7 separate regions of the Homo sapiens genome follow, and all the other regions are linked to region 6. Evidence: promoter capture Hi-C in 16 types of primary human blood cells and fetal thymus (Javierre and others, 2016). All regions are on one chromosome and are shown on one strand. Each heading gives the region's core, a stretch centred on a gene start or on the middle of the fragment in contact. The rest is flanking DNA. Distances are from core to core; before and after follow the strand shown. Region 1 overlaps LOC101929200 (a long non-coding RNA gene). Region 2 overlaps ICE1 (interactor of little elongation complex ELL subunit 1). Region 3 overlaps ICE1 (interactor of little elongation complex ELL subunit 1). Region 4 overlaps MARCHF6 (membrane associated ring-CH-type finger 6). Region 5 overlaps ICE1 (interactor of little elongation complex ELL subunit 1). Region 6 holds the start of FASTKD3 (FAST kinase domains 3). Region 7 overlaps CCT5 (chaperonin containing TCP1 subunit 5).

The links. The method cuts DNA at HindIII sites, captures the fragments that hold promoters and counts their contacts. A CHiCAGO score of 5 or more calls a contact.
Region 1: a fragment that was not itself captured here is called in contact with the fragment with the promoter of FASTKD3 in region 6 in 9 of 17 cell types (naive CD8 T cells, non-activated CD4 T cells, total CD8 T cells and 6 more); the score reaches 21.2 in naive CD8 T cells.
Region 2: a contact is called between a fragment that was not itself captured here and the fragment with the promoter of FASTKD3 in region 6, in 6 of 17 cell types (total CD4 T cells, naive CD4 T cells, naive CD8 T cells and 3 more). The highest score is 10.7, in total CD4 T cells.
Region 3: a contact is called between a fragment that was not itself captured here and the fragment with the promoter of FASTKD3 in region 6, in 8 of 17 cell types (total CD8 T cells, total CD4 T cells, total B cells and 5 more). The highest score is 18.2, in total CD8 T cells.
Region 4: a contact is called between a fragment that was not itself captured here and the fragment with the promoter of FASTKD3 in region 6, in 5 of 17 cell types (naive CD4 T cells, naive CD8 T cells, activated CD4 T cells and 2 more). The highest score is 10.4, in naive CD4 T cells.
Region 5: a fragment that was not itself captured here is called in contact with the fragment with the promoter of FASTKD3 in region 6 in 7 of 17 cell types (naive CD8 T cells, total CD4 T cells, non-activated CD4 T cells and 4 more); the score reaches 20.0 in naive CD8 T cells.
Region 7: a fragment that was not itself captured here is called in contact with the fragment with the promoter of FASTKD3 in region 6 in 7 of 17 cell types (total CD8 T cells, total CD4 T cells, total B cells and 4 more); the score reaches 12.8 in total CD8 T cells.

Annotation. Positions count from the first base shown.
Region 1 is chr5:5,416,661-5,420,326 of GRCh38, forward strand. All of the region lies in intron 2 of LOC101929200 (a long non-coding RNA gene), which reads right to left. Among named protein-coding and RNA genes, the nearest start is that of ICE1, 4.2 kb to the right of the region's middle. RefSeq lists an enhancer at 2,623-2,692. The HindIII fragment of the contact is 1,560 bases long and covers 733-2,292 here.
Region 2 is chr5:5,449,629-5,453,534 of GRCh38, forward strand. All of the region lies in intron 10 of ICE1 (interactor of little elongation complex ELL subunit 1), which reads left to right. Among named protein-coding and RNA genes, the nearest start is that of ICE1, 29 kb to the left of the region's middle. The HindIII fragment of the contact is 2,759 bases long and covers 1,111-3,869 here.
Region 3 is chr5:5,466,831-5,470,500 of GRCh38, forward strand. It overlaps ICE1 (interactor of little elongation complex ELL subunit 1), which reads left to right. Exons shown (of 19, transcript NM_015325.3): 15 at 1,998-2,158. Among named protein-coding and RNA genes, the nearest start is that of ICE1, 46 kb to the left of the region's middle. The HindIII fragment of the contact is 629 bases long and covers 1,673-2,301 here.
Region 4 is chr5:10,364,397-10,368,101 of GRCh38, forward strand. All of the region lies in intron 1 of MARCHF6 (membrane associated ring-CH-type finger 6), which reads left to right. Among named protein-coding and RNA genes, the nearest start is that of MARCHF6-DT, 12 kb to the left of the region's middle. The HindIII fragment of the contact is 3,100 bases long and covers 264-3,363 here.
Region 5 is chr5:5,433,227-5,437,342 of GRCh38, forward strand. ICE1 (interactor of little elongation complex ELL subunit 1) reads left to right here. Exons shown (of 19, transcript NM_015325.3): 2 at 3,192-3,250; 3 at 3,854-3,888. Among named protein-coding and RNA genes, the nearest start is that of ICE1, 13 kb to the left of the region's middle. The HindIII fragment of the contact is 3,964 bases long and covers 167-4,116 here.
Region 6 is chr5:7,866,123-7,870,280 of GRCh38, forward strand. FASTKD3 (FAST kinase domains 3) reads right to left here and starts at 2,909. Exons shown (of 7, transcript NM_024091.4): 1 at 2,857-2,909; 2 at 524-2,074. The coding sequence starts at 1,961. MTRR (5-methyltetrahydrofolate-homocysteine methyltransferase reductase) reads left to right here and starts at 3,026. Exons shown (of 15, transcript NM_002454.3): 1 at 3,026-3,093. RefSeq lists silencers at 2,919-3,358, 3,369-3,418, 3,479-3,528. The HindIII fragment of the contact is 2,367 bases long and covers 1,479-3,845 here.
Region 7 is chr5:10,260,605-10,264,286 of GRCh38, forward strand. It overlaps CCT5 (chaperonin containing TCP1 subunit 5), which reads left to right. Exons shown (of 11, transcript NM_012073.5): 7 at 188-307; 8 at 956-1,141; 9 at 1,877-2,014; 10 at 2,530-2,710. Among named protein-coding and RNA genes, the nearest start is that of CCT5, 12 kb to the left of the region's middle. The HindIII fragment of the contact is 8,542 bases long and covers 1-3,682 here.

The sequences.
Region 1 (3,666 bases), core at 263-2,762, 2.5 Mb before region 6:
AGGAAAAAAAGGGAAGGACCAAGAATGATACCAAAAAAAAAAACCAAAAAAGTTTGATATTCAAAACTCTATCAAGGACATTTCCCATAGAAACTGGACTTGAATGGACCTTAGAGAACTGGTTGGATTTACTGCCTAGGATGGAAGGGGGTGCCACTTGCACGCCAAGCCCAATATTGCAGAGGGGCTGATTGGAGCTGTGCACTGTGAAGGATGAGAGCTGGGCACACACAACAACTGAGGAATTCATTGGGAGGTGAGTCAGAAGGAGGAGGAGGATGAAGAGGAAGAGGAGGAGGAGGGTGAGGAGGAGGGAGAGGGGAAGGAGGACGGGGAGGGAGGGGGAAGGAGGGGGAGGAGGAGGAGGAGGAGAAGGGGCTGCACATGCCTCAGCAAGGGCAGTACTGAGCAGAAGATGATCATAAAGTCACTTCCTCCATGTCTTGGTTTTTAAATCATTGCTGTCTGTGGGATTTGTCCTCTGGGCTCCTTCTTACCCCAGATGCAGTCTTGGGCACACACCCTAGCCTTTCCAGTCACTCGGAGACAACACAGTCCAGTGTGATGTGCTGTCACTTATTTCCTGTCTTCAACTTAGCTTCTTACCCATGGAGCTGGTGGCCGTTCTTAGACGCTAGCAAGATGGGTGTGGGTGGGTGGGAATGGGGCAAGACAGGCTTTTCCTCTGTTCCAACATTTTCCTTATTCACCAGCTTGTTTGTGACCCCTCCAAGCTTGGGGTAGGAGAAGGGATCAGGAGAAAAAGATGCAGTCTTTGTAACCTGGCTTCCCAAAGTGCTTGAGTCATAGTCCAAGAACAAAGAACAGGCTGGTGGGGTGGGCTTCTCTCCTGCAGCGAGCTCCTTGGGACGGAAGAGCATCTTCCGCACAGGACTGGGGCAGAGCTCAGCCAGGAGACCCACATTACACCCAGATTATTTTAAGAGAGAAAAGGTAAAAGCAAAACACTAAAATATCACAGGAGGAGCCACCGCAAGAAGCAGCTGACACCTTGGGCTGGAGAGAATAAAAGAAGGAGGAAGGAGTGAGCAAAACTCAGAAATGTGGAGGAGCTGCCACCCAGAAATCACACTCAGACATATGAAGAAGGGACCTTCTGGGCTGGTGCTGAGGCCTCTGCTCTTGGACTCAGGGCTCTGTGGAGCTGGGAAACCAACTTTGCTGGTATCTCCGAGGGGATGCTATGAGGCTGGCTCTGCGTGTGTCAGAGAAACTGCAGACCCAATTCGTATGCCGCTCTGTTCATGAACTGCCACTGCCAGGTGCGAAAGCAAGGATAGCAAGACGCTAGCAGGACCAGGAGTCGGACAGGACAGAATGGGAGGCACAGGCCCCTCTCCTACCTCTTATCTTCTGGTTTCCTTGTGTATATCTGTTGGCACAGCTGAACAGAACTCTGGCAGGAGAGGTGGCACGTGGCTCCCCAGTCCCTACGTCACAAGGCAGAGTATAAAAGGGAAGGTGTGGGGCCGAGAGACAGTAACTTAACCACCAGCTCAGGGTCCTGGGATTCATCCCTCTTCCAGTCAGCAGGAAGTGACAAAGAGCACAGGAAGGCCCTAGGGGCCAGGCCCCTTTTGCTGATGTTTGGCTGGTAGAACTTAATCACATGTCAGGTGCAGGGAGGCTGGGGAATAACTAGACAGAATAGAAACAAGTTTTGGTGAGTGGCTGCCACTGGTGCTGTGTGGATACAGTTCAAAGTGAGGACTTTCCAGCTGTGGACATCCAGCTACAGTTCTTTGAATGGGGGATGGAAGAGCAAAGTTTTATTTCTGGCTGCTCACTTTGCCTCAGCCTCGCTTTCCTCGCAGCTCCCACTGAAATGCCCACCGTATCCAGTATGCAGAACTCCTGCTCATCCCAGTGCGGGTGAGCATGCGGCTCAGTCACCTCCAACCCATCTCCTGGAGCTGTCCCACGGTTCCCTTGGAACCACTCTAGGGCATGTAGCATCTGACTCTGAGTGCTTCACTTCGTGGGGGCACTGATTAAAACAAAGCTCTGGAATATAGCATCATCGAGAGGCAACTGTTGATTTAATTTATTAACATATACATCCACTGAAATGGCTGCTAGATGTGGTCTAGAAACCAAGGAGACCCCCCACTGGCCTCAGGTGAAGGGGAAACATGTCCCTCCCTTTCCTATCCCTCCTCAGAGTTAGGTGGGACATGCCCTTGCCAGCTGCTCTACAGAGAATCCCCTCCTCAACACCTGTCACCTCTGAGCACCTGCCGCCTTCTTCCTCCGATCCCGGAAGCTACAAGAAGCTTCTCGTGTGACCAACTCTTACAGCCGCCAGGTGTTCACAAACCCGCAAGGCAGAGTGGGCTTGTCCTCCTTTACAGAGGGCGACTGCAATGTGAGAGTTGTGAAAGTCCTTTCAAATGTTGCTTTTTTTTTTTTTACTTTTCTCAATCAGCTTTCTCAGGTTGAAGAAAATTTTGCTTAATAATCATATCAGTTTTGCTTTCTATTTCAAACTAATTGTTTCAAAACTAAATTTTATTTGTCCGGTTTCTAAGTAACATCAGTGTTTCAGGAAGAAGCAACATGTTTACTCTCTGGCTTCAAATCACTTTGAGGGTAAGAGCTGAGGCTGTGAGCAAATTGCTGATGTCTGAGGACAAGTCGAAACCCCACCACTATAACCCTGAGTGTTGAGAAAAACTGGAGCAAAGACAGCTTAGGACTAAGCCTGGTGGAACGTGTGTGGGCGGATAGCAAAGTGGTTCCCACAAGACGCCTTCCACCCTAGGATGCCCCAGAGGATGGCCTTTCCCCTCAGCAAGAAGGTTCGGTTAAGTCCTAATACCGTCGGAAATTCTATTTATGTGGAAAACACACAGGGAAAGACAGACATCTTGTGGGCATATGGTAGCATTACATCACAGGTCTGGAAATTAATACCTAATAATCAGGGGGTCATATCATTGAATAACACACTGTTAGTCACAAACAATTCCATCAAACATCTCTCCAATTAAAAGAAACAAATGAACATATAGTTCATTTTTCTTACAGTTAAATGCATCAATTAAAAGCACAGCCTTGAACTTCCAAAGAATAGACAGCTTTCCATTTTGAGTTCTCCTTGGTTTCTAGACCATATCTATTAGCCATTTCAGTGGAAGTATATGTTAATAAACTAAATCAACAGTTACCTCTCAATGATGCTAATTCCAGAGCTTTCGTTTTAAGCAGACACCAAGTATCTGAGAGGTAATGAGCGTGTGGGGTGAGAAGTGAGACTTTTTGAGTTGGATCCTCTGAACAGCTGGCTGGATTCGACAGGCACAGGGAATCCCAAGACCAGAGACTGGAATGCAGACATTCCTCCGGGTCTTAGGGCTTCTCTGGCAGAAAAACAACAAGTTTATCTTGGAAGTTTGACAGGAAAAATGCTTTTAAAGAAAAAGCAAACCATCTTTTTCCTATGAGTCAGTTGAAGATATATTTATCTCCTTTCCAAAATGGATACCACCATCAATAAATTATTAATAACTATTTGTCTAGTGAATCCTATAGAGTGGGTCCCATCCTTGTCACTTTTTACTTAAATTACCGTTGGTCCTCTGTAAGGAAACACCAGCACAAATAGGTCATTTGCGTAAGAATTTAAAGACAGATGTGTGGTTCCAA
Region 2 (3,906 bases), core at 1,240-3,739, 2.4 Mb before region 6:
AGTTTCCCCAAATCAGAGATGGCAGGGAGTGGGAGAAGGAGCAGGACATTAGCATTTTGCCAGGTAATTGATTAAAGGGTGAAAGGAATGCCAAGCTTCTGGTTTCAAAAACTGTTTCTGGCCTTTGCTCATAAACTGTGGCCCCAGTTTCATTTTCTAAAGTTTTAGCTATGACAATGGAGCTCCTCAGAGTGGGCGTGGATATCAGAAAATTGGGTAATTATGGCCACTTTAAGGGCTAGCCCCTCCTCTTCCCAGAAAACAAGATGTTTATATACTCCATGTAAACCCTCACAACTGCGTCCACTTTCCACTGCTTCCCCTGCAAGGCAGGGTCCCACAGATTTATGAAATGAGAATCTACATTTACTGCTGAAGGAATAGCACTAAAAATGTAGGCTGAAGAAATACACTTTGTCTGCCAAAGATGTTCTGCCTAAACTCTCATCTAAAACTTAGAGAAAAAGCAGTGAGAAAAAAGAGAAAAGCAACAGACGCAAGAAGACTGAGAGAAACAGTCTTTAATTATGAATGAGAAGGAAATGCTGAAAACTGATTGCATTTCCTTTAGAGAAAGTCTAAGAACATGTCCATAGGCTGCTGCTATGAAATTGAACCAGATAGGGATCTTGAAAATTAAAAATCCAATTGTATAAATAAACCCAGTAGAAAGGTGGAAATACTGGATGAACAAATAAAAGATCAATTAAGTTGATCCTAGAGACTGAATCCTAGGCGGTTGAGAGCATCATACAAAGGGACAAACAAATTAAAGATATTAGAGAAAATAACAAGATTTGGAGGATAGAGCCAGATGTCTCAATATGCGTCTCCTAGGACTTCTCAGAGGGGAGAACAGAAACAGAAGGAGAGAAGGTGATCAAGACATGACAGAAGGGAACTTTCCTGAGCAGAGAACACATGGAATATTCATATTCATAGGGGCCACCAAGTGTTGAGCGTGATTTTTGTGTACAGTCTCCGTCTCTGACACCTTCGTAGGAAATATACCTAAAATCAAATGAAACAGACTGAATATTAGAGGGATGGATAAAAATATTCCAAGCAATGCTGACATTAAAGCAGTCATGTAAGGTAAAAAATAATAAAAGCTTAGAAATGAATTTACATTATTGAAATGTTGATTAAAAGTATAGTTTGCCATGAAGATACTGCTAGTATGTACCTAAGAGTGTGAAACGATGTCAAGCAATACTCTTGGAAATCTAGGGGGACTGGCCAAATCTATTTTCGTCGTGAGAGACTTCACAATGTTTTTTAGAAAGAGAGAGCAAAAGCAGACAAGGGATGGAATTGGAATCACAGTTCCAAATGGATAATTTATATACAACTGTTTGTAAACCACACACCTGGAGTTTGTTAAAATACTTTTCAAATGTATAAAAGTTGACTAGTAAGTGAACAATAAAAAATACCTACAATTTAATATGAGCTTTTAATAAAAATCCCCCTCCCTCTGCAAAAACAAAACCTGCAAAACTTACCTAATAACTAAACTCACATAAGACACACAAAAAACCTCTCTTTGGTAACAGAGAAAATAAGAATTGAAATACTAAACTGTTTTGAAAGTAAACAGTAGGGCAATATTTATTAAAATCTTTAAGATATAGCCAATTCCTTCACTATTCAAAGGAATATGTTAAGGCCTTACGTGATACATTGTCACTTTAGAAATAAATACGGAGAATGAAGTGTTTAACTGAAAGAAAAAATTGATGAAAATGCAAACTTAATGAAATAGGAAACAAAGCAATTGATTTAGGACAATTAAATCTGATAGCTGGTTCTTTGTAATGCTAGTGAAACCAACAACTCTTTGGTAAACTTTGATTAAACAAACAAACAGAAGGAAAAACAGCACCAGGATTGAGAAACAGGTAAAACTACAGTCAAGAAATTTCATAATTCACAAGTTCATATTCAGATGTGAAAATGTAAGTAGAATGGTCCATTTTCAAGGAAAACATGCTCAAATTGACTCAGAACAATTGCTACAAACCTGAACAAAAAATAGGAAGAAATTTTTAACAATAGTTAAAGATCTAACACCATAATAAATCCGGATAATTTATAGGTGAGCTTTGTAAACGTTCAGTGAAAAACTAGTGTCTCTGTTATTAATTTTTTTGTTTCAGAACTTAGAAAATAAGGAATGTTTCCATTTTATTCTCTTAGGCTAGCATAATGCTGTACCAAAATCAAATAGCATGCACACATGTTCTCAAGATTCAGGACTCTTGTGTTGTTAATATAGCTGCAAAAATACCAAATAAAATTTTAAGAAATTAAATCCACAAATTTAGAGTACAGACAAATTATGCTTGAAGATTTATCTCAGGAATACTACAGCTGGGTCAGAGAATGTTGTGATCATCTCAATTCAGCACGTAGTCCCAATTTCAAAAAATTGATGAGGTAATGGAAAAAAAATTTTAACTTGAGAAAGGTGAAACATTCAAAGTATAGTTATTACTGTCAAAAACAAGGCAAGCATGCTTTTTGTTTGTTCCATTTTTTTTTTTTTTTTTTTTTGTACTGGAGGCCTGAACCAGTGCAACAGAATAAATGCAGAAGAGTAGGATCTGTGAATACTAATAAAGAAAAGTTGAAATTGTCATTATTTCAGATGATACTACTAATGTAGAGAATTTAAAAGACTCAGAGTTGGAATTAGAAGTAATAGAGCTTGGTAAAGTGCTGGCATATACAATGAACATATACATTGTACCGTTATTAACCTGTTAGAAAAGGAATGGAATAAGAACAACCCATTCTCAAGTGGCACCTGAACCAGCAGATGTCTAAGAAAAGACCTGAAAGCAGTATACAGTGTTTCTGAGGAAAACTGAAACATTCCTTAAAAGCGTTAAGGAAGACCTGAGTACATAAACATGTTCCTGGATGAGAAGATTCAAAGCATAAAGATGTAAAATTTCCCCAAATGTATTTATAAATATACAGAAATATTCAAAGTCCCATAGATGTTTTCTATGGAAGAGCACAAGCAGATGGTTTATAGGGAAAAGTGTATGTTCAGAATAATACAATTTTTCAACAGGAGAAAACTGAATAATGATTACGCTCTAACAGATATTCAGTAACCTACCCTGATTAAAGAAGTGTGGTATGGATACAGAAAATGACAAAGCAATGAAGTAGAAAATAAATTAAATAAATAAATATGTAAGTCCTTAAATATTCATACATGCCTTAGAGTTTGATAAAGGCAGAATTTTAAAGGATCAGGGAAAGTTGTGCAATTCACTTGAAGGAGGTGTTGTCTTCACAACTAAGTGTGAAGTTAACGCTGAAGATGTTTTTCTGCTTTGTTGGGAATAGAGTGCTTTTATTTATTTATTTTTTGGGTCAGATTAGCAGTAATGAATGCTCAGTTACAAAGGCATAGCTCTGGATGATAGCCTCCATAAGAATGGAAAAGTAACTTTTTTTCTTTTTTTTTAAGGTTCCTTGTTTGCTGCTTTGGGTATACGTAATAAGCAGGGATCCTGGTCAGGTCATTTAAGCAAAGGGGATTACAGTATTTGGAAGCAGGCTTTTGGGTAGGTTATATCACAATGTAGATAAGCTACTCGATCACAGAATTTTGGAACTGAAAAATGGATATGGCTCACACACAGTGGCAATCAGAAGGTTGTTTTGGCTCAGGAGAGTTGGCAGTGTCCAGCCTTTCACACTTACCCGTGAACTGTCCTCCACAGTTGTCCTGCCCCTTTCTGTGGACTTCATTTTTTGAAGTGATGCAGTCTGCCAGCTTAAGTAGAGCTAATCTCTTACAAAATCTGTGATTCCCTGAGACATTTGGGTTTTTAAAGTTTGGTCTTTTAAGCTTCTCTTGAACTGGAGTAAAGATTTCACTAATAT
Region 3 (3,670 bases), core at 737-3,236, 2.4 Mb before region 6:
CTAGGTGGAAAGGGCAGCAACTTTAAGATGGAATTGTAAGCTGATGAAAAGAAGTAGATGAGAGAAAGCTGAAAGGAGACGGTGACATGAGGGTTGTCCTTTGATTCTCTTTTCTCTTTACTATTTCTTCCATCCCTACTAGTGGATCAGACTGGGAATCATTCTTTGCTGTATCAAATCATCAGTATTTTTAAATCATATGATATACAAATGAAACCTAGTATCGTATCAGTCTTATCTCAGTGGTAAACATTTACCATCTTTGACTACCATGTTTATGGGGCTTATAAATCAGGATAATTGAGTATATCCATCACTTTTACTGTTGTGAACGAAGCTGTGAAGTGTTTCATTTGCCCACTTCATTTCTTTGTTTACTCTCTCAGTCATTCATTCAACAAATCATTATGGAGTGAATGTTGGGATTTCTGTGGTGATTAAAATCAGATGGAGGTACACTTGTCCAGTGGGACTGACAGGCCATAGTCATATCACAAAAACACACATGAAGTTCAGCAGTTGGTGGGTGGTGGGACGGAACGGGTGTGGGCTCGGCCAGGACCACGATGGATTTCTTCTTCTTCCTCAACCACAGCAAGCCCATTCTTAGCTCAAGCTTTTGTGCTGACAGCTTTCTTGCTCTGTTTCCCTCAACTCTTGTGTTTCACTCCATTAATTTCACATACCTTCCTAGTCATCCTGGATCCCTTATTTTTCTTTATTTGCCTTCCTGGCACTTACCACTTCTTAAAGATTAAATATTTTGTTTGCTGTCTCTCTGCTCCTCTAGCTTGTATACTCTGTAAGGAGAGAATTTATTTGTCTTGTTTCTACTCTGAAGTGTCACCAGATAAACATAGGATTCAAAAATTAACAGATGAAGTTTAGTGCAGTGAGTTTATGCTTTGAGCTATCTATTCTTAGATGTGTCAGTGATAGATAAAGTAGAACAAAGAAAACTAAAAAGATGTGATTGTACAGCAAACAGGATAAAAATCTTTACTTTGGAAGGCTCTTTGACAGTTTCTTATGAAATTAAAACATTCATTTATCCTATGGCTCAGAAATTCCACTCAGGCACTTACGCAGCAGAAACACAGAGTTAGATCATGACATCATTACATAAACTAGCACGCGGATGTAACATCTTGACTCATAGGAGCCCATAACTGGAAACAAATGTCCATCAGCAGGTGAATGGAAAACATTTTGATATATCAAGCAGTTAAATACTACTTGGCTATACAAAGGAATAGACTACCAATGCATGCAACAACACGGATGAATGTCAAAACCAACATGCTGAGTGGGGAAGCCAGACAGAAGAAAGTACCTACTTCACAAATCCATGAATAAATATTTGAGAAAAGGCAAACTAATGTATAGTGACAATAGATCAGGGCTTCTCTGTATCTGGGGTGAGGTGATATACTGCAGAGCACGAGAGCGAGAGAAGTTTTGAAATGATGGTATTGACTGTTGTGGTGGTGGTTTCGTGGATTTAATCATTTATCCAAATTCATTGAACTTTATACTTTAAAAGAGTTTATTTTATTGTCTGTAGACTACACTTCAATTAATTTTTAAAAAAGAGACAAAGAGTGTAGGAGAAAGTATTTACAACAAAAGAATTGTCATCTAGAATTTATTTTAAAAAATTCTTCAAATCAGAAGCTTTATGTGTTCAATGAGTAAATGTAATGCATAAAAACCTATGTAATGTAATACAAAACCTATGTAATGCAAAACCTATGTAATGCATAAAAATTGCCTGTAATGACACATACCAAATGGGAGAATTCTGAGACTGAGGAAGTTGGAGAACGGATTTTGGAAATGACTGTGACTGGAGCCTCATCTGGGCTCCCCATTTACAGCTTCCTCCATTGCAGGATGCCTGCAAGGCACCAGTGAAATTAATACAATTTGTTCTTAATTTGCAATTTATTTACTCGATCATACATCAAAGAGTTATTGTATTATTTTATTTCTGATAGATTTTCCGGAGTCTGAAAAATTAACTTTGTTTATTGCAAACATGTGGCATGATATATTTCTCTCTCAATCGGTGATTAATAAAGCAATGCAGTTAGTTGCCAGGCAACGTGCTAAAGGAGAGGTTCTGAACTGCTTGAGAGCTTTTCTTAATTGGGAAAAGGTGAGCCATATTTCTGTTTCTTACAGTATCTTACTTTTAGATATTATATAAATGTTAATTATTTTGTTGTGTATTTAGTTTTATATTAGTTCATAGGCATTTTCTTCTTTCTAGATCTTTTAAAATTTAATCAGTTTAGCCTAAGCTTATCCATTTTGTTAATTAAGAATGCATGAGACATTCAAGGAAGAATTGTAGACCAAAGGATTGTGTTAATTAACAGTTTGTGTTATACACTAATTTGTGACTGATGAAACCCACGCATAGGTGTATATGTTTAAAAGTCTCAGAGAAGCTACAAAATTATTTGGTTCTTCAATAGATACTTAGGTAAAAATATATATATTTCAGTTTTTTCCTATTAGGATTTTTAAAATCTAATATGCTTAATTTTTCTTTCCAGTTGATAGAATTTGTTTTTATGCTGACTAGTTTGTTCCCGTGTTATCTTTTATTATTATTTTCAGTTATTGATATGTTAAAGTAAGTGTCTAGATGGGTGTTCTTTCATCATTTTCTTTCATTCATTCATTTTACCTAATGAGAGTCTAACTACCGGTAGCGAACTTCAAGAAGAGGTACTGAAGCCAGTGATATTGATTTTTTAATTTTATTTTCTGTTTTTAATGAGCATGTATTTCCTCTTCTAAAAACTCCCCTGGGCTTATGTGTGGAGCAGAATTTTATATGCTGTTTTGCCTTTTTTTATTATTACTTTTGATGTTAGTATTTGTTAGGCTTTTATTTTTTATAAAACGTAAAGGAAAGAGCTTTTGGTGGTCAAAAGTTAGGTAAATATTAAAAAGCAAGTTTGTAATGATCTCTTCATCAATCTATCTAGACACAACAGAGTAGATTCATGTGAGGTATTGTCATAAATTCTAGTTGGTCATTTTGTGTCAGGAGAGACATCCTGACTCCTACTAATGGATACCAGCAACCACATATATATCTGCTCCAGAGGGCTGCCAGCTTCCGGAGAGTTACCTGCTTCTGGAAGGTTACCTGCCTCCAGAGACTTACCTGCTTTGAGGGTTACTGCCTTCCGAGGGTTACCTGTTCCCAGAGAATTACCTGCCTCTGGAGGGTTACCTGTTCCCAGAGAGTTACCTGCCTCGAGCATTACCTGCCCCAAGAGAGTTAACTGTTCCCAGAGGGTTACCTGTTCACAGAGAGTTACTTGCCTCCAGAGGATTACTTGCCTCCAGAGAGTTACCCGTTCCCAGAGGGTTACCTGCCTACAGGGGGTTACCTGTTCCTAGAGAGTTACTGTGTCTGGAGAGTTACTTGCCTTCAGAGGGTTACCCGCCTTCAGAATGTTATCTGTCCAGCCTGCTTCTGCTCTCACTTGGTCTTTCCACTTGCACACTAGAGCCCATCTCCTTTCACCTGTTCAGAATTAAGCAGGATATGGTTAAAAAGACATTACTTATGAAGAACATAACATTTTAGTAAATGTATTTGCTAAATATTGTATCAAATAAAAATACATAGAGCTTTAAGAAAGGTGAG
Region 4 (3,705 bases), core at 564-3,063, 2.5 Mb after region 6:
CTGTATGAAGGTGTTCATTAAAACAAAACTACTGATAGTGTGGCAGGAGCTAGAAAACACCCCTTTCTTCTTAGATATCCCTCCAGCACCCTCTACTGGCAAAGTTTAACTGCCCCTAGCCAAAAGAAAAGAAAAGAAAAGCTTAGCATCCCTATCACTGAACAGGGACTGAAAGGGAGAATTTGGAGTTGAGAAGGGGATACATGGATAACTAGCTCATTACTGCTGAAATTGTTGGAATCATTCATTGCCTGTGCTGCTGAAGCTTGATGTTGCCCACAGCTGTTGGGCAGAATCTCCACCATGACTTGCGTATCTGTTAGCAGGAGTCTGCAGTACCTGCCATTAGCTGCAACTGCTGGTTTTTAGAAACAAGTAGAAAATGGTTTCGCTGTTTCTCTGCTTCTTCTTTATTTTTATTTTTGAGATGGAGTTTCGCTCTTGTCGCCCAGGCTGGAGTGCAATGGTGCGATCTTGGCTGACTGCAACCTCTGCCACCCAGGTTCAAGCGATTCTCCTGCCTCAGCCTCCTGAGTAGCTGGGATTACAAGCACATGCCACCACGCCCGGCTAATTTTGTATTTTTAGTAGAGACGGGGTTTCACCATGTTGGCCAAGCTGGTCTTGAACTCCTGACCTCAGTTGATCTACCCACCTCAGCCTCCCAAAGTGCTGAGATTACAGGTGTGAGCCACTGCACCCAGCCTCCCTGCTTCTTCTGATCTCACAGAAGTGCTTCTCATTGACAGACTCTAACTTAAGCCTAGTTGGCAAGGAGGCCAGAAAGTGCAGTTTTCAGGCTTCCAGGAGCAACAGTACAGGTGAATTTTTAATTTAGTAACGATAGTAATCTGGTGAGCTAAAATAAGTAAACTTTGGGGTACATAGAGAATTGGAATTATTATTATTATTATTATTTTTGAGACAGAGTTTCGCTCTTGTTGCCCAGGCTGGAGTACAATGGCACGATCTTGGCTCACCGCAACCTCCGCCTCCCGGGTTCAAGCGATTCTCCTGCCTCAGCCTCCCGAGTAGCTGGGATTACAGGCATATGCCACCACACCTGGCTAATTTTGTATTTTTAGTAGAGGTGGGGTTTCTCCATGTTGGTCAGGTTGGTCATGAACTGCCGACCTCAGGTGATCCGCCCACCTCAGCCTCCTGGGATTACAGGCGTGAGCCACTGCACCTGGCCGAGAATTGGAATTTTTAAACTGTGTTTGCAAGGCCTAATTCCCAAACCCACATAGTTTGTGTATGGGTATACGCTCACCCTCAAAAAGGAAATATTTTTTGTAAAATTTGAGCAGTTAAACATTTTTTTCTGCCTGTAATTGTAAAAGTAGCAATTAAACACTATCTACTTGGGGACGAGAAAGGAAGAAAAATTACCCATGTTCTCGTCTGACCAATTACAGTGGCTGTCTTTTTTTTGCATTTTCTTCTTTAGGCTATGGTGTTTTTACCTAGTTGGAAGTAAGGGAGTGTGGTCATTTAAAAATGTTATATCTCTTTCCATATTAGCAAATAGTTATATATACATATATATACTTTTTTTTTGTTTTTTGGTCTGTTGCCCAGGCTGGAATGCAGTCACGCAATTTCGGTTCACTGCAACCTCCGCCTCCTGGGTTGAAATGATTCTTGTACCTCAGCCTCCTGAGTAGCTGGGATTATAGGCGTGTGCTGCCATACCTGGCTAGTTTTTGTATTTTTAGTAGAGATGGGTTTCGCCATGTTGGCCAGGCTGGTTTCGAACTTCTGGACTCAAGTGATCCATCTTGCCAAAGTGCTGGGATTACAGGCATGAGCCACTGCGCCCAGCCTTGTATTTGCTATTTTTAAGGGACTGTATACATTCCATATAGTGAATGTGCACCATTTATATAGCCGCTTCCCTATTTTGGGCTATATAGGTTATCTGCAGACATTTTGAGTAATATTTTTAATATATTTTCAAAATTGTCTACTATAATTGTAGCTACTAATTGTAAAAATTTTATTGATAATTACATATTAAACATTCCTTGTTTACTTCAGCCAGATGAACAAGGTCAACATTAACAGTTACATGTGGCATAGTGCCACGGTTATTACTTGAGACTGTCACTATGACAGTTACTGCTGTTACTACTTGAGACCGTCATTATGAGACTGAGTGAAGGGGGACAAATGTAGAAATGAAAAATTAAGACAAAAGAAACTTTTAAAGGAAGAAAAAAGGGGAAGAAAAAGAGGGCTCCCTGCTTCTAGGGAGCAAAGGCAGCAGCCTAGCTTCCACAGCCCTTAGAATTTATTGGGTAGAAAGAGCAGGGGGGAGGTGATAATGACTGGTCAGCTGCTTAATTGATCACACGTTCATATTATTACGAACAGGCTTCAGATGTACCTAATCACAAGAAACTGAGCTTGGGGCGTGACTGCCTTCAGCATTCCTTCTGGGTGGCATAGGCAGTTTGTCAGTTTGCCAACATTCTGCGTTTATGAGAACAGTTTGCTGTTCACTCTTATAGCCTCCAGTGGTATACTGAGTTGATCACGACCCTCAGTCTTTCGGCCTCCAACAGTTACAAATCATGTTGATGGCATATCCCTTGATATGATATGATATGATATAAGATGCCACTTCATGTGATTTTTTTCCTTCCCAAAACCCATAGCCCCAGTCTATTCATGAATCATGCAATTTCCAGTAAACAGACATTCTACAGTGTACCTGACCAGTACTCCTTAAAATTGTCAAGGTCGTCAGAAACAAGGAAAATCTGAGAGACTGCCCGAGCCCAGAGGAGCCCAAGGAGACATGACAACTAAATATATGTAGATCCTAGAACAGAAAAGGGACGTTAGGTAAAGACTAAGGAAATCAGAATAAACCATGGATTTGAGTTAATGACAATGTATCAATATTGGTTAAGTGTAACAAAAGTGTAACAAATCCTAATAAGATGTTAATAGTAGGGGATATTGTGTGCTGGGTATATGGGAACTCTGTACTCTCTTCATATTTTCTGTAAGTCTAAGACTTCTAAAATCTAAAGTCTGTTAGTAATAAAAAATAATTCTTTGTATATTAAATTATCACTGATTTAACACCAGAAGGTAAGTGGAGAGATTTTGAAGTCTTACATCAAAGAACTTTCAAGATAGATAATAGCTTAAGAGTTATAACATGTACCCCAAAACTTAGAGTTTTATTTTTTTCCTCATACTAGGCACTTAGGATAAATTATTGAACTGTACTGTTGGCTAGAAAAACTTTGATGAAATGGGCTGACTTCCACAGTGGTGGTGGTTTTCTTTCTTTCTTTCCCATCTCCTGGGCAATCTCCACAAGAATTTGAAAAATTACTAAGGACTTGAAGCTTTTTTTTAATTAAAAAAACCACTATTGTTTATTGAGCCAAGCTCTTTGGTGGAATCTTTAAAAGGTATCCATGTGTAAAGACATTAGGTATTCAAATACAGCAACAAAAATTGCTACAGGATTAAATAGAAATTTCCCTTTGAAAACCAGGAAGAGCTTTGCCATATTGTTTCTAAGTAGGTTTGCGTTCATAACAAGCAAGATGCATTGATTTTACTTTGGCCTGAGCAAGATTCATAATTTTACTGCATACGAATCTGATGGGGGGGAGCCTCAATCTGCCACAGAACCTACTTCGGTGGTTTAATTTTTAGTAAAGGACTTTAAGCTGAGCCCTT
Region 5 (4,116 bases), core at 899-3,398, 2.4 Mb before region 6:
CAAAAAGCAAACCTCTTTCTGCTGGATGGGGGAGGAGTGATTTCTCTGAGGCATGGTGGATGGTTGGGGATTGGGATTAAATGCTTATGAGAAAGTTTGCAACTAGTGCTTGTTTTAGTTCCATTCCCCTTCACCTTCTCAAAAGAATCCATGTTACTGATTCTCAAGCTTGTTGAAGTTTTGCAGTATAAATGGAGCTGGTTCTCACTTTTCCCCACTGCTGGCTTTCTTGGGTGCTAAATCAGTACTCTTGAGTCTGCTTTCCAGTTTCCGTTTGTCTTTTATCCTCTTGTCATCCTTGTTGGTTTTGCCTTTTGAAAAAAAAGTTTTTGACTGTATTTTTAGCTGGTTTTAGGGAGGGAAATAAAAGCAAATGCATGCATCCACCCTCTCTGCCCAGAAATCTGGATTAGGGCCCACTCTAGTCCAGTATGACCTCATCTTAACCTGATCATATCTGTAAAGACCCTATTTCTAAATAAGGTCATTCTAAAATACTGGGAGTTAGGACTTAAGCATGTCTTTTGTGGGACAGGTCATGATTTAACGCTTAACAGATGGTGACCCAACAATTCTGTACCTAGCAAAGTCTTATTCATGCATGAGAGGTGTTCCTAGTTTACTCCCTCCTTACAGTTTTTAGCAAGGGAAAGGCATCCTAGTAATTTTAGTGCAAAAATGGTATAGGCATATCACTTATGAACATAGATGAAAAAAAAAAACCTAAGTAGGATATTGGGGAATTGAATCCTCAGTGTGTTTAAATAATGTTAACATAGTGTTCAATTACTTTTATCCCCAGGAATGTAAGGCTGCTTTATCATTAGAAAATCTATTGTAGTTCACTGAAATTAATAAATAAAGGGAGAAAAATACATATTCAAACTAAATACAGAAATTTATTTGATGAAGATTGATACCTATACATGAAAATCTTTTAGCAGACTGTGTGTAGAAGTTTCATAACATGATTAAAGGATATCAACCAATAACCTGGAACAGAGCAAATTTAATTAACTAATTCCAACTTTTAAGACAAAGACACCTGTTATTACCCTTACTATTCAATATTGTGCTGAAGCCTTAGTCAGTTCAGGAAGGAGGGCAAATGAAATGTAGGCATGAGTAAAGGTAGGATAAAATTATCAGTGAATGTTACAACTATTCACATAACACACCCAAGAGAATCTGCAGATAAATTATTCACTGCTGGATTTACTTTGCATATATTTTATTTAGATCTTTTGTGTGTATGTTTATAAGTGACATTGTTGTAAAATGAGCTGGTCTTACTGTAATCAACAAACAAAAATTAGTAATATTTTTGCATACCCTTAAGAACCAATTAGGAAATGTAATATAGCAAAAACAGCAACATAAAGATAGTACTCATGCTAGTGGTAAAAACAAATTAAGCTAGGGTGTAAAAGCTAACCAGGATGTAGAAAACATCCTTCAGGAATGCGTAGAGGAAAAATAGAAAAAATTATCACTGTGTGTGTTTTGATTTCATTATATGCTGCCAAAATGCTCTTCAAATACTACCACCCATAGTATGAATTGTATTTTCCTTACATCCTTACCAATATGTTTATTTTAGTCTAGCCTAGTGGATGAAAAGTAAATTTTTGTTATTTTAGTTTTGCATTTCCTGATATGAAAAAGGTGGAATACGTTTTTTAAAAAATGTCTATTGACTATTCCAAATTCTTAATCTGTGAATTGACAGTTTATATCCTTTACCTTTTTCAGTGTAAACCTCTGAAATGCATAAGTCTGGTCCAGCAGTACCAGTATTTGGGCTTTATTCTCAGGAAAAATAGAACTGTTTGACAAAGGAATGGGCAAGGAAATTCATGGCATGCTGTCTGTAAAGACTGGAAAAGGACCTAAACCTCCCTCAACAACAATTTGATAGATGGAGTACATCCAAAAATATATTTTATATATGTGGTGGCAGTTCTGAAAGTTGAAAGTTAAAAACACGCTGAGTGATTTTTGACAGATGGTGAGATTACAAGAGAAACTATGCATTTGACTTTATTTTAATGTGTAGATGTTTTAACAGATATGTAACATAACTGAGAAGAAAAGGCAGACATTATCATAAAGGGAAATATTACTGTAACTATCAAAATCATTTGGATTATCTGGAAAACTATTGGGATAATCAGTGAAAATTGAACATAGTTTGGATAATTTCAAATTATTACTTGGTGTAATTATTACTTGTGAAGGGCTATTGTGGTTATGTTTAAAAGTAAGTCCTTATTTCTGAAGTATTTAGTGATGGAAAAAGGAGACATTAAAGGAAAGAAGTTAATGAAAAGAAAAAATTAGCTCATTTTAAAATCTTAGGAACATTTCAACAGTGTAACTAAGGATGTTTTTCCTTTTGGGTTGATAGCGGTAATTTAGAGCCAAATTTGTGTTTTTTTTTTTTTTTGTTTTGTTTTTGTTTTTTTTTTCGAGATGGAATCTCACTGTCACTGGAGTGCAATGGCACGATCTCGGCTCACTGCAACCTCCGCCTCTCAGGTTCAAGTGATTCTCCTGCCTCAGCCTCCTGAGTAGCTAGGATTACAGGTGCCCACCAACACACCTGGCTAAATTTTGTATTTTTAGTAGAGACAGGGTTTCACCATGTTGGTCAGGCTGGTCTTGAACTCCTGACCTCAGGTAATCCGCCTCAGCCTCCCAAAGTGCTGGGATTATAGGCATGAGTCACCGCACCCGGCCTAGATCCTTATATATTTTTTCACTTAATCTTAGTCCATTTTAATATTTCTATTCATCTCCCCCATGGTTTCTTTTTTGTTGTTATTTTTTATGATTTATGTGTCTTTTGGGGTAGCCTTAAATCCTCTCAGAAACAATGCAGGGTAAAGATTGATGATTAATAGCAAACTAAAAATAGTTAATATTTATTGAGCTCTGTGGCTAATTGCACACAGTAAAAGCATATTTACAACTAACTACCTTGCTGTTAAAGGAGTACTATCATTCAGATAAACAGGTTTGGAGAGAGGCACCATAGGCTCAGATTGTGCTCTACACAATATAAGTAATGCATTAACATTTCTATGTTTATATAATTATTAAAATTCTTAGATATGATAAATAATGTTACAGACAATAATTATATTTAAAGTAATTGATAAAAAAGCTGACTGTGGCTTTTTTTCTTTCAGAATTTGAATGAATATGTTGAAGCATTAATTACCTTGAAACAAAAAATTATCAATACAGAGTAAGTATATTTGCATGTCGTTTGGCAGAACTTTGTAAACCTGACAAACTGGCTGAAGCAGGCGGTGCTTTTAGGCCCCCAGGGCTGGAATGAACACTAGAGTTTCTCCTTTGGAGGCCTGCATGGTACTGATTATAATTCCCCGTGAGCTTTGGGACTTGAACCTTTTGTTACAGGTTCACAGGCCTTTAAAACAAAGCTCGTGGGTTAGTAGGAAGTTGTTTTTACCAAACTGGACTTCTTAAAAAATCTGTTTTCTGTCTTCAAAGCCTTCTTAGCTTTACTGCTGGACCTCAAACCTCCTAACAGTATTTTATAGCCATGGTGTGAGATTTCCTATTTTTTTTGTTTTCAGCTTTGTAATAGTCTCATGAATGTATGAGCCAAGATACTACTCAGATCTAAAGGTTTCTAAATAAAAGGCTTGTATATCAACGTGATGCTTTTGAGAAATTTAAGGTGATATAGTCATTAATTTAGCATGCATTTGTTTCAGGAAATCTAGGAAGTCTAGAGGGTGCCTTGCATGGATTGAAACATAATTTTAACATAGTATATTTTCTAAATTAAAAAGTAACCTAATTTTTCTTTTCTTTTTTGCAGTAATTTGTTAACAGAATATCAGAAGAAATGTGATGATATCCTTTTACTGGCTTTTTCTGTTGAGTTTTGGAACTAACTTATGTTTAATTCCTGAAAGAGATGTGAGAATTGTTCCTCATAGGCCTTCTGGAAGATAGTACTTAACAGGCTTCAGTAGGGAGCATGTCTCACAAGCACAGTAAACAGACAGTCCTTTTATTCTTAATCCATGTTTAATGATGAGTTTTAAAAATGAGATTACTTTTCTTGTTGATTGTGATTTT
Region 6 (4,158 bases), core at 1,659-4,158:
AGAATTAATTATGCCCTCCTCTTGCCACCAATGAAATTGACTTCCAAGAACCCAAGCTCCTAGCTACAGAATACAATTAAAAGAGATAAAATATGTTCACAGAATTAGTGGAAATTTCCTTTAACTATGGAGTTCCGGAAATTTGACATATTTGGGTGGCCTTGAATTAAGATGAATAATACCATCCTCTCAAAAAAAAAAAAAAAGATACAGTTGCTCACTCATCAAAAGTTCTAACATGTTAATGTGGCTATTTCCACTGCCATTACCATATCTCCTAAGAATGCTGCAATTTCTCAGATAAGGCAAAAGTCAGTTTATCTGAGACAGCTTTCTTCCCTCTACATGATTTCCTAGCATGCTTTAACTGTGTTTATGCCAGCATCTGTTAACTTCAGGTCTCATCTTCGGATCACTATGGAAGAAAAACTAAAGGCAACATATTGCCTTTATATGTGACTTGAAACCACTGCCAGTTCAAAGGTTACTTTTTTCCAACTGTCAGAATTTATAACCAACTCACCTTGCAGCCGTTGAAGGAAAAGAGGCTTGAATATTTTTGCCAGAAAGTTGACTGGATGGCATTCATTAAGTGAACATGAATGAAGAAGTTTCAATAATGATTTGGGTGGAAAATAATTGAAATGAGTGAATAGCACGTTTTCCAGCTTTCTAAATAAAGCAGAGGCATTTGGTGGCAAATAATTGAGTTTCCCAAATGGTTCCATTAAGGCAGAAATCTGACGAGGTGAAAATTTTTCTGTTTGGCAAACAAAAGTTTCTGCCACTGCATTGAGGATGGGTTTTGAAAGAATCAGTTCTCTACTGCAGTACTCCATGACCCTGCAGACAACTTCAGGATCCAACGTGAGGCACACCGCAGCTACACGATGCTCTAGGGCTTTTGTAAAAAATGTGTCATGGTGCCCAAAATATATGAACGCCTCCAAGACTCTCCTAAGCTCCTCGTTAGTGAAATGTGGGACATGCCTCACGACATATTTGCCCAATTTTATAATCAGAGGAAATGCTTGACTTTGATCAAGAACCACCAGGGCAGTGAGCATTTGGCTAATCAATTTAGGACTCAGGTTGGAAACTATTGATAGGGAAAAGTTGTTTATCTTATTTAAAAATGTTTGGTGTTCATCCACTTTTTCAGTACATGCCTGCAAGATTCTATAAAGGGCCACAATATCCTCCGGGGTAAATGTTTCCAATTTTTCACCTTGAAGTTGATTTATAATGAGTTCTAGTGTCACACAACCTGAACTGTGCAGTGTAATCAGACTTTCCCCAAGAATACAAAGATTGCGAACTTCCATGCCACCTTTTCTGAGACGATTTTGGCATTCTGCCACCAGGTTCAGCAACAGGCTACTTTGAGGATCCACATGCAACAGAATCAGAGCTTGCAAAGCAGTCACTAAACTAGTGTTTGACAGCTGTGAGGGCTCCTTTTCAAACTGAAAGCATAAAGCTTGAAAGATGCTATTCTCCAGTATTTCTTTTGGCAGCCCTTGATCACCATCCTTTTTTTCCACTTCACAAATTCGTTGTAAAGCTCCTGCTGCCATAGTGTCAGGCAGGGTTTCCATCGTGCTTATAAAACTTAGCACTTCTTCTGATGAAGTCAAGTTGCTCAGTCTCCTGTAAAACATCTGACTCTCCTCATTTTTAACATTTTGTTCAAGCCTGTCGCAGTCAGATACTTGAGAGAACACTGGTCCACCGAGTGGATGAAGGTCATTTCCATTTTTCGAATGAAACTTTTTACAATGGGCATGATGGAATTTGACCCCGAAAGGCTCAGGTTGTCGTGAACACAACCAAGGGCACAGACGCTCCTTGACTACCTTGTGAACATGATTTAGAGGTTTATTTTTTAAAGCAGCCAGAGCTCTATGCATCTGAAAATCAGATAAACGATAAAGGTTCTTCCTCAAGGTGATTAATGCCATACCATCAGATTCTCAATTTGATAACTAAATTAAAAAATTTAAAAACACATGGTTAAATACATTGAGAACATGATTGACCCAACATCAATGTTTATGAAACTACAAACGAGTATCTGGAAAAAAAAAAAAAAAAAAAAAAAGGATGGTTAACATATAAACACCAGAGGGGCAAAGTCTCTGCATCCTAGAGTTAGAAGAGTGGCTGACATTGAACAATAACAATCGCTATTACTTGCTAAACACTGTTGTAGGTATTCTATTAACTTACACAGATTCAGTACTTTTACTATCATTTTACACGAGGAAGAAGTTGAAGCACAAAGTTACTTTGCCCAGTTTATGCAGGTGGTTAAGTGGCAGAGCTAGGGTTCAAACTCAGGCAATGTAGCTCTTAAGGGTGGCCCTTAAATGTTGGTTGAAGGAAGAAATTGCATTTGGATAGAAATCAAAGAACAGGTAAAGTGGGCAAAATTAGGCGAGGTTAGAGCAAGGCAAGGGTAAAAACGCGCTGGAAAGGCCCTAAGCTGTTGGTTTCCCCTCGGTGTCGGGAGAAGGTTAGTGTTGAAGGAAAGGGTCTACTTTGTCAATGGAAACAAGGTAGGAAAAGAAAAAGCAAAACATAGATCAATGAAGGGAGAAGGTGGGGCGGCCAGTCCAGATCTAAAGACGGTGCGGGGGGATTTGGCAACACGTGTGTGCAAGACAGACAGACGGGAGGCCCCGCGGCGCGTTTTCCTAGGAATGAAAGGGACCCGCGGGGCGAGCACCCCCAAACTCGGCGCCCCGGGGACCTGCGCTGAGACACGGGCCGGGCGGCGCAGCCTGAGGAGAAAGCCGGCCAGGTCTTTGACACCCAGCCGGACCAACTGCGCGGAGACCCCGCGTTGACACCTACCGCGCTCTGCCGGGCAATCACTCCGGGTGGTCGCGGAAGCGCCTGGGCGTCGTGGGCCTCCGTAGCAAACGCGGGGCGGGAGCACGACTCAGGGCGGCGCAATGTGATTGGCCCAGGTCCCCTTCGGAGCTTTCTATTGGTCCTGGGTACCGAGCATGGGCGCTGCGTCAGTGCGCGCTGGCGCAAGGTTGGTGGAAGTCGCGTTGTGCAGGTTCGTGCCCGGCTGGCGCGGCGTGGGTAAGCTGCCTGTCGGCTACGGTTCCCGGATTCCGGCCGCTCGCCCTGCACTAATCTCCTGGGAGAGGCGGCCCGGGGCGGGGGTGGGCAGCCGGCTTGCGCCCGTGGTTCCCACGCCCTTCGGCCTCCGGGGGTCGCCGCGGGCGCGGGCTGGGGCTCGGACTTGGCCTTTGGCCTTTGGCTTTGGTGTCCCCGGGAGCGTGTCCTTGGGCTCGGCGTCGGCCTCTGCCGCGGGAGGCCCCTGGGCGGCGTGGGGTCTCTCCTCATGTTCTGCCTTTGGTTCTAGGCGCTTTCCAGGCCTAGGGAAACCGCACTCGGGGACGCGGGGAACTGGGGAACATGCCGGGTTGGGGCGGCGCGCTCCGGGGAACCCGGGACGTTCCGAGCGCCCACCCGGCGGGACGCGGCCGTGAGTTCTGCCCGCGGCCGTGAGCTCTGCCCACCGCCTCCGCGCCGCTTCCGGGGCTGCTGGGGCCCGGGCCTCCGCTGAGAGTCGTGGGAAGGTGGTGCCGGATTGTGGGGCAGTAGCAGGGATGAGGGGTTGATTGATCCTGGGAAGCCCTCAGGATGTGTGTTTCATGGGAAGTGATAGAAATTTTAGCTGTAGTAAGGTTTTCATTATCGTTTCCACCGTTTTCTGTGAGCTGTCAATGTGTAGTGTTTTCATATTGTTTATTCACTCATTCAGATAACTTATCGAGTACCAGTTTCATGCCAGGTGCCGTTCTGGGCGGTTCATTCACCGAAAGCCAAGCTTTTGGTTTGGGTTTCAGTTTAAATCTGTCTCTGCAAATTGACAGCCCACCAATTTTAGCCGTTAGATGAGTATGGAAAAAAATCTGTGAGTGTCGTTTGTTTTACTACTGCTTATCTCTTGCGGAAAAACGTGTTAGTAAAATGTTTAAGTGGATTGGAAATATTTTTTCGTTATATGCACCCGTTTGTATATATGCCCATACACTCACATATTTTTGATTTGCATTAAATAATGAAGGAGAGTATGTGCTTCAGTTACCTTTAGTACTATGATTAGTTTGTTTAGCGTTAGGATCAAATAAGAACCAA
Region 7 (3,682 bases), core at 1-2,500, 2.4 Mb after region 6:
TCACTATTTAGAATTTGGAACTGACAGAAAAGTGGACACTTGTCTATTTCCTTCCTTCTCTTTCCTTTGCTTTTGTGTTTGAGTGCACCTGCCTTACACCCAACTGTGCCTCTCCTTTTTTCAAACATTGTAATGAAGAATAAATACCCACTTTCTCTTAATACGATTGTGGTGGTTCTTTTCCCAGATTAAAGAGACTGGTGCTAACCTAGCAATTTGTCAGTGGGGCTTTGATGATGAAGCAAATCACTTACTTCTTCAGAACAACTTGCCTGCGGTTCGCTGGGTAGGAGGACCTGAAATTGAGGTAGGATGTTCCACGTGAAGAGACTTTGAGAAGTAGGGGTTCATCTTATGTGTTGAGGGGTGTTTTGATAGCCCTGCCTTAAATAACTGCATCACACCAAGGCTGGCAGATGAGGGGAGGGTGAGCTGGGAGAGAGGAAAGCGCTGGAATCTTTGTTACTGTTTGGATAACAGTGCTGTGTGTTTCTGGTGTTCCCTGGCATTTTGAAATTCTCTCCCTGTGTTGTCTCACTTGGCCCTGTCGTTGACTTACTAAGGCTGGAAGACCTGGTCTCATCCAAATACTAATGGCAGTCCCAGGCAACGGTGCCTCGGTGGTTCTCACTGCAGCGCAGTGCAAGGAACATGCAGGCTGGGTTCCCAGAGTGAGGGAGGGCTGCACAGATGGGAGATGAGGGTATGAGCTTAGGGGACGGGCGCCGGGTGATAGATCTGGGCAGCACCAAAGCCCCAATCAAGACGTCCAGCTCAAGAGCCTTGTTACCTAGCAAGGTGCTTTGGGTTGAACTGGAGATGTCTCGGTCAAAGTGGGGCAGCAGTTCTAGTGAACAAGTTGGTCTTAGATCAAGTTTTGCTCATTTGTGGCCCAGTTTTGAAAGTTAACTTCACCAGTACTGTCTTCATCCTTCTCCCTGACCACCCCAATTAGCTGATTGCCATCGCAACAGGAGGGCGGATCGTCCCCAGGTTCTCAGAGCTCACAGCCGAGAAGCTGGGCTTTGCTGGTCTTGTACAGGAGATCTCATTTGGGACAACTAAGGATAAAATGCTGGTCATCGAGCAGTGTAAGAACTCCAGAGCTGTAACCATTTTTATTAGAGGAGGAAATAAGATGGTGAGAATTCAACTATTTGTCCTATACTGTTGCTTATTTTGCTTCATGGTCTGGCTTTTTTGCCTGTGTGTATTTAACAGAGACACAGTCACCATAAGAAAAATAATCGTGGTTCTCAAACAATGACGTATCATGGTGTAAAATTACTGAAGACCATGTTAAATTGTTAATTTCACAAGGCACATTTGCCTTTCTGCTGTCCCTTAGAGTATACAATATACACTATGAGATTTTTATATCTTTTTAAATACTTAAACACAGTTTAAATATTCAAGTCCTGGATTTTAGAATGTTTGATACAGTTACATTAGGGGTTGGTTAAACTGCTAGCCCTAGCAACATAAGACTCATTTTAATTACAATATGGTATTATTACCAAGGATGACTTACATCTGTCCCTTAGGTAGAAAAAGGGAACCCAAGTGAATAACCATTGACGATCTCTGTTCTTTGAGAATGAGTTTTTAGCACATTGTGATAAATCTTTGCGAGTTTTGTCAGTTTTTGACTCTTGCTTGACCGTGTATCCTAGAATGAGTCACTGGCCGCCTCTGCCTCTTGAATTTTGTTAACTACATTGCAGGAAGGAAAGCTAGAAAGATAAATATTATCCGATAGTGGAGGCCATCTAAATATTAGAGCACAGCCTCTCTGTCTTTAAAAAGGTGCCAGATACTTGGCTCTAAATTGACTAGATCTTGATCACATTAATTCAGGCAAAGCTGTTTTCCTTAGATCATTGAGGAGGCGAAACGATCCCTTCACGATGCTTTGTGTGTCATCCGGAACCTCATCCGCGATAATCGTGTGGTGTATGGAGGAGGGGCTGCTGAGATATCCTGTGCCCTGGCAGTTAGCCAAGAGGCGGATAAGGTAAGGGATCTGTGCAGACTTAGTGAAAGATTCAGGCCTCGCTGATGGTGGAGACTGTGAAGCTGCGGAACAGCGAGGTGCTGGATGCAAAACAAGCATCGTGAGCTGTGTGTAGGTGACAGGTGTTTTAATCTAAGTTAATTCCCACGTTCCTGTATTCAGATTCTGGTTACCATAACCTAGCATTTCTCAGCTGTTTTCAGCCAGTTCGTCCTTGAAATAATAAATCTATAGTCTTTTAATGTTATTTGAAATTCAAAATTAATATTATAACTTAAAAATAAAGCCATAAGAGCTGCTGTATTTTGAGACATCTCTCACATGTATGTATACCCTCTGCCTGTATTCTGTGGTGACATTATAATATTCTGATAGATACAAAAATAAAGACAGCCTGTTCTTACAATTCTTTGTGAGCTGACTTTTCAAAGTATGTGATACAGTTGTGTTTTCACGGTGCCGCTGGGTTGTTTTGTTTCGCCAAGTGCACTCACCATACTTCTGTACCTTTCCAGTGCCCCACCTTAGAACAGTATGCCATGAGAGCGTTTGCCGACGCACTGGAGGTCATCCCCATGGCCCTCTCTGAAAACAGTGGCATGAATCCCATCCAGACTATGACCGAAGTCCGAGCCAGACAGGTGAAGGAGATGAACCCTGCTCTTGGCATCGACTGTTTGCACAAGGGGACAAATGGTGAGGAGCTGTCACGCCTCTGCGTGGAGGGGGGGGGATGTCTGATTTAAACTGAATAATCATCCACTGTATGTGCTGTGAGATGATGGTGTCTTTTTAAATATGTAAGCCCACTTCAGGTGTTCAAGTCCTGAATTTTAGAATGTTTGATTGCCGTAGGAATTGGTTAGACTACTAGACCTAGCAACATGAGACTCATTGTAATAACAGTAAAGTGCATATGGTACTATCACCAAAGATGACTTAGGTTTTAATCTCTGGTTTTTGGGAAGTAATGCCTTATTGCTGTTTTTACACAGATGTCTGTCAGTGGGCAGCATATATATAACAGCTCTGAAGTGGGCTTTAGTTCACAGTTCACTGTGTGGTTAATCCTGCACACTGTGGAGTGTTTTCTAAATGTAATATATAACCTCTGTAGCCACTTGTGTAGCTCGGCTCCCAAAAAGATATGGTGGCTGTAGCTTGTTGAAACAGTGGTCTCAGGCATTTCTGTACTAAATCAGGCCATGTCTGTAATCCATCCACAGAATGACAGCTTTTGCTTAAAGGTATAGGTACATTCTGCTTTCCATGCTCAAATTCCAAGGGTTTCAATAGTAGCAACTCTTTGTGAGGCAAACATTTAATGTTTCTAACTTGAATGCCTGGTTGTGCTCAAATTTAGCATTTCTAGGGCCGGGCGCAGTGACTCATGTCTGTAATCCCAGCACTTTAGGAGGCCAAGCCGGGTGGATCACCTGAGGTCAGGAGTTTGACACCAGCCTGACCAACATGGTGAAACACCATCTCTACAAAAAATACAAAATTAGCCAGGCCTGGTCAGGGCAGGCACCTGTAATCCCAGCTACTCGGGAGGCTGAGGCAGGAGAATCGCTTGAACCCGGGACGCAGAGGTTCCAGTGAGCTGAGATCGCACTGTTGTATTCCAGCCTGGGTGACACCTGTCTCCAAAAAAAAAATTAGCATTTC